Regions from separate parts of the Homo sapiens genome. Here all the other regions are linked to region 1. The links are contacts of gene promoters, found by promoter capture Hi-C in human tissues and cell types (Jung and others, 2019). All regions are on one chromosome and are shown on one strand. The core of a region is centred on a gene start or on the middle of the fragment in contact, and the rest is flanking DNA. Distances in the headings are between cores, read along the strand shown. Region 1 holds the start of OMG (oligodendrocyte myelin glycoprotein). Region 2 has its middle 36 kb from the start of RNF135. Region 3 overlaps ADAP2 (ArfGAP with dual PH domains 2).

Region 1 (4,623 bases), core at 903-3,402:
TAATGGAGTCTTTACATTTGTGGTTGTCTCTTCCCTCCATAAGTTAAGGGTTGTGCTTTGTTGAGGCATTTCAGAGAAATTATTTGGCATGCCACTAGTGATACTTAGGGTCATGGGTGTTGGGGATGATTTTGTTGAGCTAGTGAGGCTTGTGTTTGTGACCATTCCATCTTGGAGATGAATAGTTAGAGTTGCAGCTGCTGCTTCATGTGAATTGATAGTCTCTGTGGATGTATCTTCTGGATAGGGCACAAAAGCCTTATCAGTGCTAGTAAAGGTGGTGTCTTTGCTTAGAGTGGCACCAAACGTTGTTTCCTTTGTTCGATATTGTTTGGGTATTTTGGTCACTTTGGGTTGAGTTACCACACTCAGAGAGTTAATGGTGTCCACTGTCTGCATCCCACTTACAGTGAATAAGCTTGAGGTAAATCCAGAAGGTGTGGGATACATGTTATGTTCCTTTAAAGATGATATTTGGGTAGAACATGGAGTCCCTATCACATGGGCTTTTGTTTCCATCATCCACTTCAGTAAGTAAGTAATGTTTTGTTTGTGGTCACATGACCACCTGTTATTGTAAAGGGTTATCTCTTGCAACTGAAAGAGTTGGTCAAAAGATTGGTCTGGAATGAATGTGAACTTATTGTTGTGCAGGTAAAGATGTGTGAGATTTGTCAGGTTTATTAATGTACCTGGAAGAATTTGTGTCAAAGAATTATTAGACAGGTCCACGATATGTAGTTTGGAGGGCATGTTGGTTGGAACTGTCCAAAGTTTGTTACTACTGAGGTTGAGAACCTCGAGACTTCTTAGTGTATTTTTAATGAGGACAACCTTTTCCAGCATGTTCTTAGAAACATCCAGATATTTAAGATTCCACTGATAAGCAGTATCAGATTTGTCAAGAAGTTTAATGTTGTTGTTAGCAGCAGACATGTTCCACAGAGACCGAGGTAAGTGAGCAGGCAGGCTTTCAAGCCTGTTGTTTGAAATGTCCAGGGTCCTCAGATTGGTATATTGGGTTAACTGGTTATGCAGATCAGTAAAGTGGTTATAAGACAGGTTTAAATGTATAATATTCTCTTGCAGTCCAGATGGTAATGTAGACAAGTTTCTGCCTGAACAGTCCACATGCCTGTGCCTCTCTGTGCATATACATTGGAGAGGACAAATGCATAAAATACCAGGTGTGAGAAACAGAAGGATGAACAGGCAGAGAGACATTTTCAATATCTGATATTCCATCAAAGCCTAGAAACAAACAGATACACCCTTCTTTTAATATGCAAATACAGTTTAGGCATCTGCATGGGTCAGTTAGCATTAGGCAAAATTTTCAATAAACCTCGTTGTTGTCGAGTCCTTTTATAATTGTTCCAGTGATTAAACTAACAAAGCTCCCCTTCATTTATAGTCCAAATGCTTAATCCTTCAATTGGGCTATGTGGTAGAGAGAGACTCTCTCCCTACTCTCTCCTGCATTTTCTCCTTTATTTTCTCTCTCCCTCCCCCCTTTTCTAACCATATTCTTTCTTATTTATCTTTCTAGAGCCTTAATATGATAAAATAGCATTCTTTGCAAATAAATAGTTGCAGTTGTAGGCTATTACTATTTTTGATGATATGCTTTCTTACTCAGATGAGAAAAAATGGCTGTCGTGTCTTTTTTTTTTAATCTCTGCAGTAATGTAATTCAATGTGTGTATATAGGGTAGATTTTATTTAGATATTAAAGCAGTTCTTCGAAATTTTATCTGTATGTTTTTAGGATAAATATATCTTTGTAAAAAGCACTTGAAAAATCCAGACCAACACAGTACCTATAAACCTCACATTTTATAAAGTGATTTTTTTCTGTATATTTCAGTGCCCATTTTAAAGGAAAACAATATGTATATTTACAGAGTGACTGAATGTATAAAAAATATCCCTCAACTGACACTGCAGCAAATTTCTGGTGCATGCACTTGCTATTGAATATATATTTAATCCTAACGTTGACTTTTTCTTAAAAGAAAAAGGAAAAAGATTCCAAAGTCAGCCTTTTACTGATTTAAATAACATCTTACCGTGGTGTCGTCTTCAACATCAGCATCTCATTTTCTCTGGGAAACTTAAAGGTCGTCTTGTTCTGTAGAGTCGGAACTGTTTCTGGCTGTGGGCTGTGCTTGCCTGCTCAGCTGCATTGTGTTGCTGTGAGCTGAAGCTCTGCAACCACCTGATCAGTACCACATAGGAGGACTGCAGAGCTGTCGCTGGTGCTGACTCAAATTTATGGCAAGAGGTGCACACGCAACAAAATGGACAATTTTTTAAAAAATTTGTGGCATCAAGCGTACCTATATATCTGATTTGCTATAGGATGGGATACCTTATGCATGAGAGTTGGCCCTTACTCCTTTCTATGTATTTGTCTGAGATTGGGTTCCATATTTTAACATTTGCCTCATTAAGAATCTGTGAATTTTTAAAATACCTCTACTCTTTATCCTTTTTACATGTTGAAAATAAATTTGACCTTCCTCATGGATAGTTTTCTATGATATTAGTCCCACTATTTTTTAACTCCTGCCTTTTTATATTCCTTTCTAAAATTGTATAATTTTCATGTCACTTTTTTAATATTATAAAAAATCTGTTTTATGACTTTTATGTCTTCCCCCAACATGGTGATTATTATGTTTAATCAGCTTTTCAAATTTATCAACCACTTAAGTGTTCCGTCTTCCCTTTTAGGATGTATAGAAGTACTGAAATACGATTATTTTTTCTTTATCTTTCTGATACAATGATCATTTGACCAAGGCTACACACAAGCCAGGATACATTTGGAAATTAGCATCTTATACTTCAGATTATCAGTTCCTATGTAAAATAAACATGTTTTATTTTATATATTTGGAGTTAAAGTTTTTTTTCTTTATGCAACCTTGGGTGGTAAGTGGATATGAGTATTGTTTTTTCCAAAGACATTTTTGGTGCTGTATGAATGACCATTTATTTGATTTTATGTTTTAAGAATAGCAGTATCAATTTAGGTGATTTCAGAGTGTTGCACATTTCATCTTTCTGGGAAAGTAGTTTATAGTTTTAAAATTACATGAAATGATATAAAAGGAAAATTTTTCATCATGAGTTTTATAAAGTGAGATCAGATTTATGATAAATTTTGCTCCACTCTTCAGTGGACTGCTTGTGTAAATCTGTTAAAACACAAATCTGATTTCCAGAATGGCAAGTTTAAAGAAAGCAAATAAAGTTACGGTATTTTCGTTACCAAGTGGCACCATTTAAAAACGAGTAATATTTAGCATGTTATGTGTAAGGAAAGTCTCTTTATGCCTTGTTACTAAATCGTTTGTTTTTCTCTAAATTATATTAGCATTATTTAGATTATACCACAAATAGAATTTGTTGTATTAAAATTTGAAGTTTATTTTCTTACAAGAGAAACTATACTCTAGGAGCCACCTTTTGTATAAAACTAATGTTCCTCGAAAAGTATCTGCATTTTAAGAGTCCGCAACATAGAAGTTTATTGTTGATTGGGTGCTTTATTGCCACTTTACTTTGAGGGTTCAGTTGAACTCTCAATTGGATTCTTACTGTGGATTTAGGAAACCAGCCATCAATCATAGTGCTTAAAATAATGTGTTAAAAATACTACATTCAGCAATATTGTGGAAATAGGGAATGCATTGACATTTAGAGTTCTATTTAAGCTCATATATACACTGCTGCACTTCTAAAGATGTGACTGAGGGTCAATTTACCGACCACTTAAATCTCTTAATTTTAGGAAACCTCATTAAGTCAGTGTAGAAGTAGAGTTATGCATTTTCATTACACTTAACAGTACTTTTGTTTGAAAGAAAAGACATGTTACTTCATTAATGGATTCAAATGAATTTGGGTTTAGGCTGTATCAAGTTTAGTTTCTGTTGTATATAATAGAAAATTCCAGTGCAATAGTAGTGGCAATGTTTCTCATTTCAAGTTTGGGACATACCAAATTGCTTCATATTATTCAAAGATTATTGTAAAATTCTCAAAAAGAAAAAGGGAGATCATTTCAATATATTTGAATTCTAACAATCTCTTACACTGGGTGCAGCACACCAGCATGGCACATGTATACATATGTAACTAACCTGCACGTTGTGCACATGTACCCTAAAACTTAAAGTATAATAAAAATAAATAAATAAATAAAAGAAATTCTCATGAAATAAAATAATACTGTATTACTGTTACTCAAAAAAAATATTTTTTAGAGGCATAAGTATGTGTTACAACTTATTTTAAATATTATTCAGACTCATTACATTTTCTATTAGGCTGTCTAGGTCAGTAATGATAGTTAGGCAACTTTTACATTCTAGATTAAGCAGTAAATTAATTTACGTATTCTTTTGTGTCCTAGGATATATTACCCCAACATTGTGAAAGGTATCACAAAGCATCTGCCAAGGAATAGCTATCCCACGCTAATCAGTGGTTTCAGTTTTCCATTATTATAGGTAACATTTGCTATGCTTGAGAGTCAGATATTGTTTATTTTTGGTAATATGGTTGGCTATTTAGACTGATTTTCCTGCTGAATACAACTGAGAGTACTCAATA
Region 2 (4,714 bases), core at 1,447-3,946, 290 kb before region 1:
GGTCAAGGCTGCAGTGAGCTGTGATCATGCCACTGCACCCCAGCCTGGGTGACAGAGCAAGGCCATCTAAAAGAAAGAGAGAGAGAGAGAGAGAGAGGAGGGAGGAAGAGAGAGAGCAAGAGAGAGAGAGAGAGAGACAGGGGGGAAAAGAGAAAAGAAAAGAAAAGAAAAAGAAAGGAAAAAAATGAAAAAAGAAAAGAAAGCAAATTTATTTCTCATAGTTCTGGAGGCTGGGAAGTCCAAAATCAAGGTGCTGGCAGATTTGGTGTCTAGTGAGGGAGCTCTCAGGAGTTCCCCCGCCGTTTTTTTTTTTTTTTTTTTTTTTTTGAGACAGAGTCTTGCTCTATCACCCAGGCTGGGGTGAAGTGGTGTGACCTGGGCTCACTGCAACCTCTGCCTCCCAGGTTCAAGCAATTCTTCCTGCCTCAGCCTCTTGAGTAGCTGGGATTATAGGTGCCTGCCACCATACCCAGCTAATTTTTGTATTTATTAGTACAGACGGGGTTTCACCATGTTGGCTAGGCTAGGCTGGTCTTGAACTCCTGACCTCTGGTGATCCACCCAACTCAGCCTCCCAAAGTGCTAGGATTACAGTCCCTTTTATAAGGTCACTAATCTCATTCATGAAGGCTCTATCTTCATGACCCAATCACCTCCCAGGACTGTCATATTGGGAGTTAGGATTTCAGTACATGAATTTTGGGAGAACACAAACATTCAGTCTATAGCGGAGACACACTGCTTCATAGGAGAGCACGAGGAACTCCTTTGGCAGCTTTCTGCGCTATCTGGGGACATTGTTCTCAAAAATTTGTTTTCTATCAGGCCTTGTCTCTCAAGTGTTTTTTTTTCCTGGGGGTTGAGGAGAATGGAGTGTTCTCATCAGTGCCATGGGCTGCTTCTGTCCTTCTCTCTTCTCTTCCACCTCACACACTCTGGTGAAGCAGCTGCTGGATAGTTCTGTTGAACCCACTATTGGGTCCGGGGCTTTGGGTTCCTGGAAGACCACCTGCTAAGCAGGAAGCCACCATCTTGTTAGGCTTGAGGAAACCTCTAAAATAGTTATATCTATCTGTCCCTTGCTTCTCTCTCAAATACTATTTTGTTTTGTTTTGTTTTTGAGACAGTCTCGCTCTATCACCCAGGCTGGAGTGCAGTGGCACAATCTCGGCTCACTGCAACCTCCGTCTCCCAGGTTCAAGTGATTCTCCTGCCTCAGCCTCCTGAGTAGCTGGGATTATGGGCATGTGCCATCATGCCTGGCTAATTTTTTACATTTTTAGTAGAGACCAGGTTTCCCAGTGTTGGCCAGGCTGGTCTTGAACTCCTGACCTCAAGTGATCCACCCGCCTTGGCCTCCCAGAGTGCTGGGATTACAGGGGTGAGCCACTGTGCTGGCCTTATTTTTATTTTATTTTATGTTATTATTATTATTATTTTGAGATGGAGTTTTGCTTTGTCCCTCAGGCTGGAGTGCAATGGCGCAATCTCAGCTCACTGCAACCTCCGCCTCCCGGGTTCACGCCATTCTCCTGCCTCAGCTTCCCGAGTAGCTGGGACTATAGGCACCACCACCATGCCCGGCTAATTTTTTTTTTTTTTTTTTTAGTAGAGACAGAGTTTCACCATGTTAGCCAGGATGGTCACTATCTCCTGTCCCCGTGATCCGCCTGCCTCGGCCTCCCATAGTGCTGAGATTTACAGGCGTGACCCACTGTGCCTGGCCGCTTGCTTCCTATTTTCTATGAACTCATGGCACTACTGTTGAACCTTTCGAGGTTCCTCTCATGGCCCTGGAACCTGCTTTCCACTGTAAAACATTCTTTCATTCTTTCTTCCGAAATTGCATCCTTATCTTAGCTAAGCAAAACTATTTTCTGAATAAACTATCTCCCTGATGGTTTTTCAGATAGAGACTGCTGTAGGAGAAGAAAGATTTCCATGTTCTCCTAGCTCCTCACATACTCAATGACTACTTTCCTGTTACTCCAAACCCTTCCTCCTCACAAGCTAATATTCTACATTCTATTTGTCAGTTTCTGTCATTAATAGCTCTCTAGGCTGTTCTCCCACATTCAATGACTATCTACAGCCAACCTATCCAAAACCTGAGATCACACCAAGGTATGGTGTGGCCACGTTCCATTCAACAGAGTTCTTTGCTTTCTACTCCAAGACTTGCACTTGTCCATACCCCTAACTGTGCTGCTCCATACTAGAAGTCTTAACATTGTAATGCTCCACTCTTGGCCGTGGCTTCCTCTTTTAGTTCCTTTTCTCTTCGTGTTTCTACTTAGGGACTCATCAAGACATCTACACTCTCTCCCTTTCTTTCTTTCTTTCTTTCTTTCTTTCTTTCTTTCTTTCTTTCTTTCTTTCTTTCTTTCCTTTCTTTCTCTTTCTTTCCTCTCTTTCTTTCTTTCCCTTTCTTCTCTTTCTTTCTCTTTCTTTTCCTTCTTTTCTCTCTCTCTCTCTCCCTCTCTCTCTCTCTCTCCTCTTTCTTTCTTTCTTATGCATATATCTCACCTAAGACATCCAGACTTGAACTTTTCACATCTTCTCCCAATTTATCAGTTGCTCTCTTTGCTTCCTGCTTCCATTTCCTAGCTAGCCCAAGTCCCACAGTGTAGCTCATGGACTTCTTTCTTCAGCACTTTGAACTTTCTTACTTCCTCATTCCTCTGGGACACAAAACTTGTCTATTGGTCATCGAAATTCTTTGACCCAACATATTTCATAGTAATGGTAACATCAATCCCAGCCTACAACTTTTTTATTTATTTATTTATTTTGAGACGGAGTCTCGCTGTGTTGCCCAGGCTGGAGTGCAGTGGCGCAATCTCGGCTCACTGCAAGCTCCGCCTCCCGGGCTCACGCCATTCTCCTGCCTCAGCCTCCGGAGTAGCTGGGACTACAGGCGCCCACCACCACGCCTGGAGAATTTTTTTTTTTTTTTTTTTTTTTTTTTTTTTAGTGGAGACGGGGTTTCACCGTGTTAGCCAGGATGGTCTCGATCTCCTGACCTTGTGATCCACCCGCCTTGGCCTCCCAAAGTGCTGGGATTACAGGCGTGAGCCACTGCACCCGGCCAAGCTTTACAACTTTATTTTTAGGGACAGGGTCTCACTTTTTTGCCCACTACTGCAGCTTCCAGGAGAAAAAGTTATTCGCCTCTGCCGTGGAATATTCTATAGCCTAATCCACGTGAGCAAAAGACACAACTCTACCAAGATATAAAATGTGTACTACATATACAGTCATGTGAGCACTAGGCTGTGACCTCGAATGCCAACAACTATGGCCAAATTACTGACAGACATAAGCCTGAGAACTAAGCCAGACACTCAACAGAAACAAGCCTCCCTTTTCAGAGACATTTTCTAAAACCATAAAAATAAGAGACAAAAATTAGGACATATTCAGGTAACAAGAGCTTCCTTCCCCCAGATAATTTCTGTTGTATAAAACCCAGAGATTAAAAACAACGATATTGGATTAGAAAAAAAAAAAAAAAAACCTTAGTCTTTCAATAAAAAGAAGAATGGGACAAATTTAACCCAAAACACATCATCATCATTTTTCTTGAAAATACGATAGTTCCCTTTTATCTGAGAGGGATCCATTCTGAGACCCCCCCCAGTGGATACGCTGAAACCATGGACAACACCAAACTTTATATATACTATGTTTTGTTCTGTACATACATACTCATGGTAAAGTTTAATTTATAAACTAGGCACAGAAAAAGATTAATACCAGAACAATTATAACATACTCTAATAGAAGTTACATGAACGTAGTCTCTTTTCTCTAAAAATATCTTATTGTACTGTACCACTGGTAACTCAAACTGCGGATAAGGGGGGACTGTTGTACAACAGTCTCACCATTTGCCGGTATTTCCGAATCATTTTTAGCTTGTCTTCTCCTCCCTTGTTCCTTCTTTCTGTTCAAGGCTGCTGATTATTCTCCAGGAGGCTCTTCTAGCTCCAATCACATTCTTATATGTAACAGATAGGAGGTTTCTTTCTTCAGCTGTCAGCTCCACATCCATCCCTGCTAATTTCTTCACTGACTCCACCATTTCTATAAGGGAAAAGCAAAATCCCGGGTCCCTCAGACAAAAGGGCGGGTGGAGGAGGAGAAGCCGAGAGTCCTGCTCCGGCGCCGCCGGAGCACCGCCTGCCTCAGCCGACCAGCGCCGTCGACTACTGGGCCTAGCCCAGACGAGAGGAGGGAAAGGCCGCAGAGGCCGCGAGGATGCTGCGGAGGCGCGGGCGGCCGGCTGCCGCCTAGTTGTGCAGCCCAGACCAAGGAAAGAGAAGTGGGAGGAGCGGGGAGCTCGGCGTCCCGCGTCCTCCGCGGCTCAGGACGACTACGCTCGGCACGTCCGGGACCCTCCGGCCGTGGCGGTTGCAGCGCCAAAAGCTCGGGCCTCAGCCCCTGACGCTGTGGTGACTCCGCCGCGCCTCGCCGTCGCCCCTGTCCCCGTCCTGCCCGCCGCCTCCGCCGCTGGGGACATGTCCAACCCCGGAAGCCGGAGGAACGGGCCCGTCAAGCTGCACCTGACAGGTGAGGGGGAGCGCCGGGCCGGGCTGGGCAGCCGCCGGGTGGGCGAGCTGGCGGGGGGTGCCTGTTGACTTGGGAAGGGCCAGGATCGCGATCAATGGTGAGTTGGGGGTTGGAGGAATGGGAAGGCCTAGTTCAGGGAGAG
Region 3 (4,791 bases), core at 240-2,739, 350 kb before region 1:
TTTCTCAATCACCACATTATATCAAAGTCACAAACTACCACTATTTGAACAAGCCTTTAGCCTCCCAATTCCAAATTCCTGGGAGAAGGAATCTGATAAGCCCAGTCCAGCCTCTGTGTTGCTCCAGGCCTGGTCCAGTTGCTGTGGTTAAGCAGGGGCAGGATCACAGCAGTAAATGGGGCTGCAACTGGGGTTGGGTGAAGATAGGCGGGGTAGTTCTCACAGAAGCAGGGCTTGGGCTGAGCAAGCACCAAAAATCTATCTATTACAACATCAAAACTAACCTGCGGGATAAGTGGAATGTTTTGCGTAAAAGGTGTGTGTGGGATGGAGCGGGCTAAGCAGAATGTCCCGAGAGGAAGGAACAGTAGGTGTTGGGAGAATTGCAAATAGTTTTGCATGGAAGGAGCTCAGACAGCAAAATCATAGTAAAGAACTTAAGACTTTTTTTTCTGAGGGTAGTAGACAGGACTCCAAGCCAGACTGATTAGATTTGTAATTAGAAAATCACTCTGGCTACAGGCTGGGCGCTGTGGCTCACGCCTGTAATCCCAGCACTTTGGGAGGCCGAGGCGGGCAGATCACGAGACCATCCTGGCTAACGTGGTGAAACCCTGTCACTACTAAAAATACAAAAAAAAAAAAAATTAGCCGTGTGGTGGTGGGCGCCTGTAGTCCCAGCTACTCGGGAGGCTGAGGCAGGAGAATGGTGTGAACCCAGAAGGCGGAGGTTGCAGTGAGCCAAGATCGCACCACTGCACACTCTAGCCTCGGCGACAGCATGAGACTCCATCTAAAAAAAAATAAATAAAGGAAAATCACTCAGGCTGCCATGAGAGGGCCAGTCAGAGAGCAGCTGATCAAGGCCAGCTAGATACATGGTTGTCTATGTGGGAGATGAAGGTGGCCCAGGCTGCTGAGGGACATGTTCTCTCAGAGTGACAGCAGAAGGGGCCAAGCCAGCTTTGGCCTAAGTTGCCATGAGCATCCTCATTAGAGGAGCATCCCCAGGCATAACTGCTCCCCACCCAAATGCCAATCTTTGACATCTGAGGACAATGATTTCCTAGAGCCTTGCTCCTTAGAGTGCATTCCACTGACTAGCAGCATCATATCACCTGAGAGCGTGTTAGGAATGCAGAGTCTTGGGCCCCATTCCAAACCTACTGGATATGCCTCTGCATTTTAACAAGAGCCTCAGGTGATTTTGCACGCATTAGAAGGTGAAAAGCACTGTCCGAGGCCATTGCAGAACTCCCATGCAGTTCACTCAATCCTTTTCCAGGGCTCTGGGGTTATCCCTGTCAGAGGCTTCCTGCTTGCCCGGGTTAGCCCACGAGGCTCTGACACAATCCTCCCTGGATGCCCCTGAGCCGAGCTGTGGGGTGTGTGCAGGTGCTGAATATATGTGCCCCACACCCAATGCCCAGCTAGCTTCCCGCCACCAGAGGTAGCTTCCCACCCACCCCATCTCACTGCTGTGTGTGTGTCCTGTGCACTTCTCTCCGCAGGAGATAGTGGACTGGTTCAATGCCCTCCGTGCAGCCCGTCTGCAGTACCTAAAAATGGCCTTTCCTGAACTCCCAGAGTCTGAGGTGAGCTAAATGCGGACCCCAATTTCTGAATCTCCTCTTGGCCATCTCCTTCTTTCCCTGTCTGTTGACCTCGAAGACACTCAGAAGCCAGACTAGGGCTGGGCGCGGTGGCTCACGCCTGTAATCCCAGCACTTTGGGAGGCTGAGGCGGGCGGATCACAAGGTCAGGAGATCGAGACCATCCTGGCTAGCACGGTGAAACCCCGTCTCTACTAAAAATACAAAAAAATTAGCCAGGTGTGGTGGCAGGCGCCTGTAGTCCCAGCTACTTGGGAGGCTGAGGCAGGAGAATGGTGTTAACCCGGGAGGCGGAGCTTGCAGTGAGCCCAGATGGCGCCGCTGCACTCCAGCCTGGGTGACAGAGTGAGACTCCGTCTCAAAAAAAAAAAAAAAAAAAAAGAAGAAGAAGCCAGACTAGTTTTGTTTGCAGGCAAGACCTCGAGGTTGAGGGCTGGGCTGCTCAGAGGGAAGCCCAAGGCATTCTCCAGGGGAGCCTGCGGGGGTTACAGCCTCACATACGACAAGGCGGCCTCCCAAAAGCTGGTCAGTGTCTCCCCTTCAGAAGAGTGTCAAGGGGCTCAGCAATTGGTCATCTCTTTCTGAACCCTTCTCCCTCTAAAATGTACAAATGATCCCTAACATACTGCTTACAGAGTGCTTTGAGCCCATTTTGTCTTGTGAAATGGCAGCCAGGCAGGGGTGATTATTTCCATTTCACTGATGAGTTATACAGTCCCAGGAAGGGCAGGTGAATAACCAAAGGTGTGCTTCCCTTTCTAAAATCCCCTCTTTGCCCTGTGATGCTCTGGGCTTGGGAAAGCCTGGGATCCTCTCCATTACAGTTGTAACAGGAGCAGGTATGCCCTTCATGGCCAACATCATGGGGAGCCGAGAACTTCATTTTGATTGTCTCCAGACTTCTGGGGCCTTCATCTCCCTATCTCAGGCTGGGCCAGGGAGACCCGCATGGTGTAGGGCAGAGGATGCTGTCTCGAGCCAGGAAGCCTGGGCTCTCAGGGATGCTCTATTGCTCACTTGCTGTGTGACCCCTGCAGGTCCTGGCACCCCTCTGAGCTTCTATTTCCATATGGGTAAGATGGCGGTTAGTCCAGGTCATCTTCAGGGTCCCTTCCGCCTCTGAGATTCTATGCTCTGGTCCTCTTCAAGAGGCTCCCCTCCAAGAGGATTTTATAAGTGATGGGGCTGGAAAACCATTTTAATGCTGGGATTTTCTTAATCTCAACCATTAGAGTTTCCTTGAAAGCCTAAATGCTCCTTAATTCCAAGGTTTGTAGGGAGCCAGTTGTCTGGAATAGGGTCCCCTCCAGGCCCAGGGATGTGCTGAGATGGCAGCTCTCTGGGAGCAATTCCAGCAAGGCCCGAGTCAGAGCCCTTGAGTCAGTCTGCTGAGTTTGCACCCAGAACTGGTTAATGCTGGCTCCCATGGGCGGGGAGTGGAGACTGCTGACTGCTGACTATGAGGAGGGAGGACAAAGTGCAGATGCTCAGCCTTATTTAATCTGGGCAAGCTGCCCATCTTTGCTGACATGTGTAAAGGAAATTGCTCTTTGGTCAACATCCTCAATGTTCCCCTGCCTCTCTCATCCACTGTCGGTACCTGATATCCATCCCGTGTCTTTCCTCCCATTTAATGTCTGTGTATGGTGTGAGGTTCTGAGCAATCACCAGGCCTGGCTCAAGCTTTAGGGGTCCACATGTTGGAAACCCAGGGCATCCCAGTGGGGTCTGTGGTCCTGTAATAAATGCATATGGTCTCTTGGACTTCAGAGAAAGTAGGTTTTGTCGCCATGGTGACAGATGAGTGCATCGAGGCTCAGAGAGGTGAGGTGACTTGCCTAGGTGATAGTACCTACTTTCTAGGGCTATTGTGAGACTCCAGCGAGCCAAGGCATCAGAAGTACAGGAAGCAGTGCTCCAGCCATGTGACTTTCCTTTTTTTCCCAATGGTTTCCCTAGGCCTCTGCTTGCTCTGTGCTGGCTCAAATTCCGAATATTGAGCAGTTCGGGACTCCATCTGTTTTCTCCAAATGGAACAATTAAAGCCTAGTGAATGTATTTTAAGAGAAGGGGAGTAGTACAGTTTATATCTTGTTTCTTACATTAAAAATTTTTTTTTAATTTTTTATAGAGATGATGTCTCACTTATGTTGCCCAGGCTGGTCTCGAACTTCTGGCCTCAAGCAATCCTCCTACCTCGGCCTCCCAAAGTGCTGGGATTACAGGTGTGAGCCACTGCATCTGACCAATATTTTCTTTTCTTTTCTTTTTTTTTTTTTTTTTTTGAGACAGAGTCTCGCTCTTTCGCCCAGGCCAGAGTGCAGTGGCGCCATCTTGGCTCACTGCAAGCTCCGCCTCCCAGGTTCACGCCATTCTCCTGCCTCAGCCTCCCGAGTAGCTGGGACTACAGGCGCTCGCCACTGCACCCGGCTACTTTTTTGTATTTTTAGTGGAGACGGGGTTTCACCGTGTTAGCCAGGATGGTCTCGATCTCCTGACCTCGTGATCCACACGCCTCGGCCTCCCAAAGTGCTGGGATTACAGGCGTGAGCCACTGCGCCTGGCCTAATATTTTCATTTTTGGCTCACAAATTTCCCCCTTTTAAACTTCCCATAGCTGTTCCCCAGACCTCACTTCCCCTGTGCCTCTGCCCTGGGCCCTGGAGCTCTGGAGAAGCCTCTCTGTTCTTTGAAGCCTGGACTGTCATTTGAAGCTCTAGACTTTCCAGGTTGATGCCTAGGAGCATAGGAGGCCATCATCAACCCCTGGAAACATCTCTGGGCGTAGGCTGCCAGGCTGGAAGGGATGCTGGGGATCACATGATCCAGGCTGTTTATCACACAGGGGAGACATAAGGCCTCGAGAGACAGAAGGTCTTAACAAAGGTAATGCAGCTGATGGAGGCCAGAACTGGAATTAGAACCAGGTCTCCCGACTTCTGCTTCAGAACTTTCTCTGTCCACTCTGGCATCATTTTCTTTTCTTTTTTGTTTTGTTTTGTTTTGAGATGGAGTCTCCCTCTGTCACCCAGACTGGAGTGCAGTGGCACTATCTCAGCTCACTGCAACCTCTGCCTCCCAAGTTCAAGGGATTCTCTTGCCTCAGCCTCCTGAGTAGCTGGGATTACAAGCGCGTGCCACCATGCCCAGCTAATTTTTATATTTTTGGTAAAGGTGG

The links. Contacts are between HindIII fragments. The study calls those that stand out against the background at their distance.
Region 2: a fragment that was not itself captured here is called in contact with the fragment with the promoter of OMG in region 1 in 1 of the 25 tissues and cell types used here (dorsolateral prefrontal cortex).
Region 3: a fragment that was not itself captured here is called in contact with the fragment with the promoter of OMG in region 1 in 1 of the 25 tissues and cell types used here (lymphoblastoid cells).

What each region holds. Positions count from the first base shown.
Region 1 is chr17:31,295,087-31,299,709 of GRCh38, forward strand. OMG (oligodendrocyte myelin glycoprotein) reads right to left here and starts at 2,153. Exons shown (of 2, transcript NM_002544.5): 1 at 2,070-2,153; 2 at 1-1,251. The coding sequence starts at 1,245. All of the region lies in intron 36 of NF1 (neurofibromin 1), which reads left to right. The HindIII fragment of the contact is 15,224 bases long and covers 1-4,623 here.
Region 2 is chr17:31,004,232-31,008,945 of GRCh38, forward strand. It overlaps the pseudogene LOC107984974. Among named protein-coding and RNA genes, the nearest start is that of RNF135, 36 kb to the left of the region's middle. RefSeq lists an enhancer at 4,042-4,543 and a silencer at 4,588-4,637. The HindIII fragment of the contact is 7,448 bases long and covers 1-4,714 here.
Region 3 is chr17:30,947,776-30,952,566 of GRCh38, forward strand. It overlaps ADAP2 (ArfGAP with dual PH domains 2), which reads left to right. Exons shown (of 11, transcript NM_018404.3): 7 at 1,512-1,595. Among named protein-coding and RNA genes, the nearest start is that of RNF135, 21 kb to the right of the region's middle. The HindIII fragment of the contact is 6,000 bases long and covers 1-4,489 here.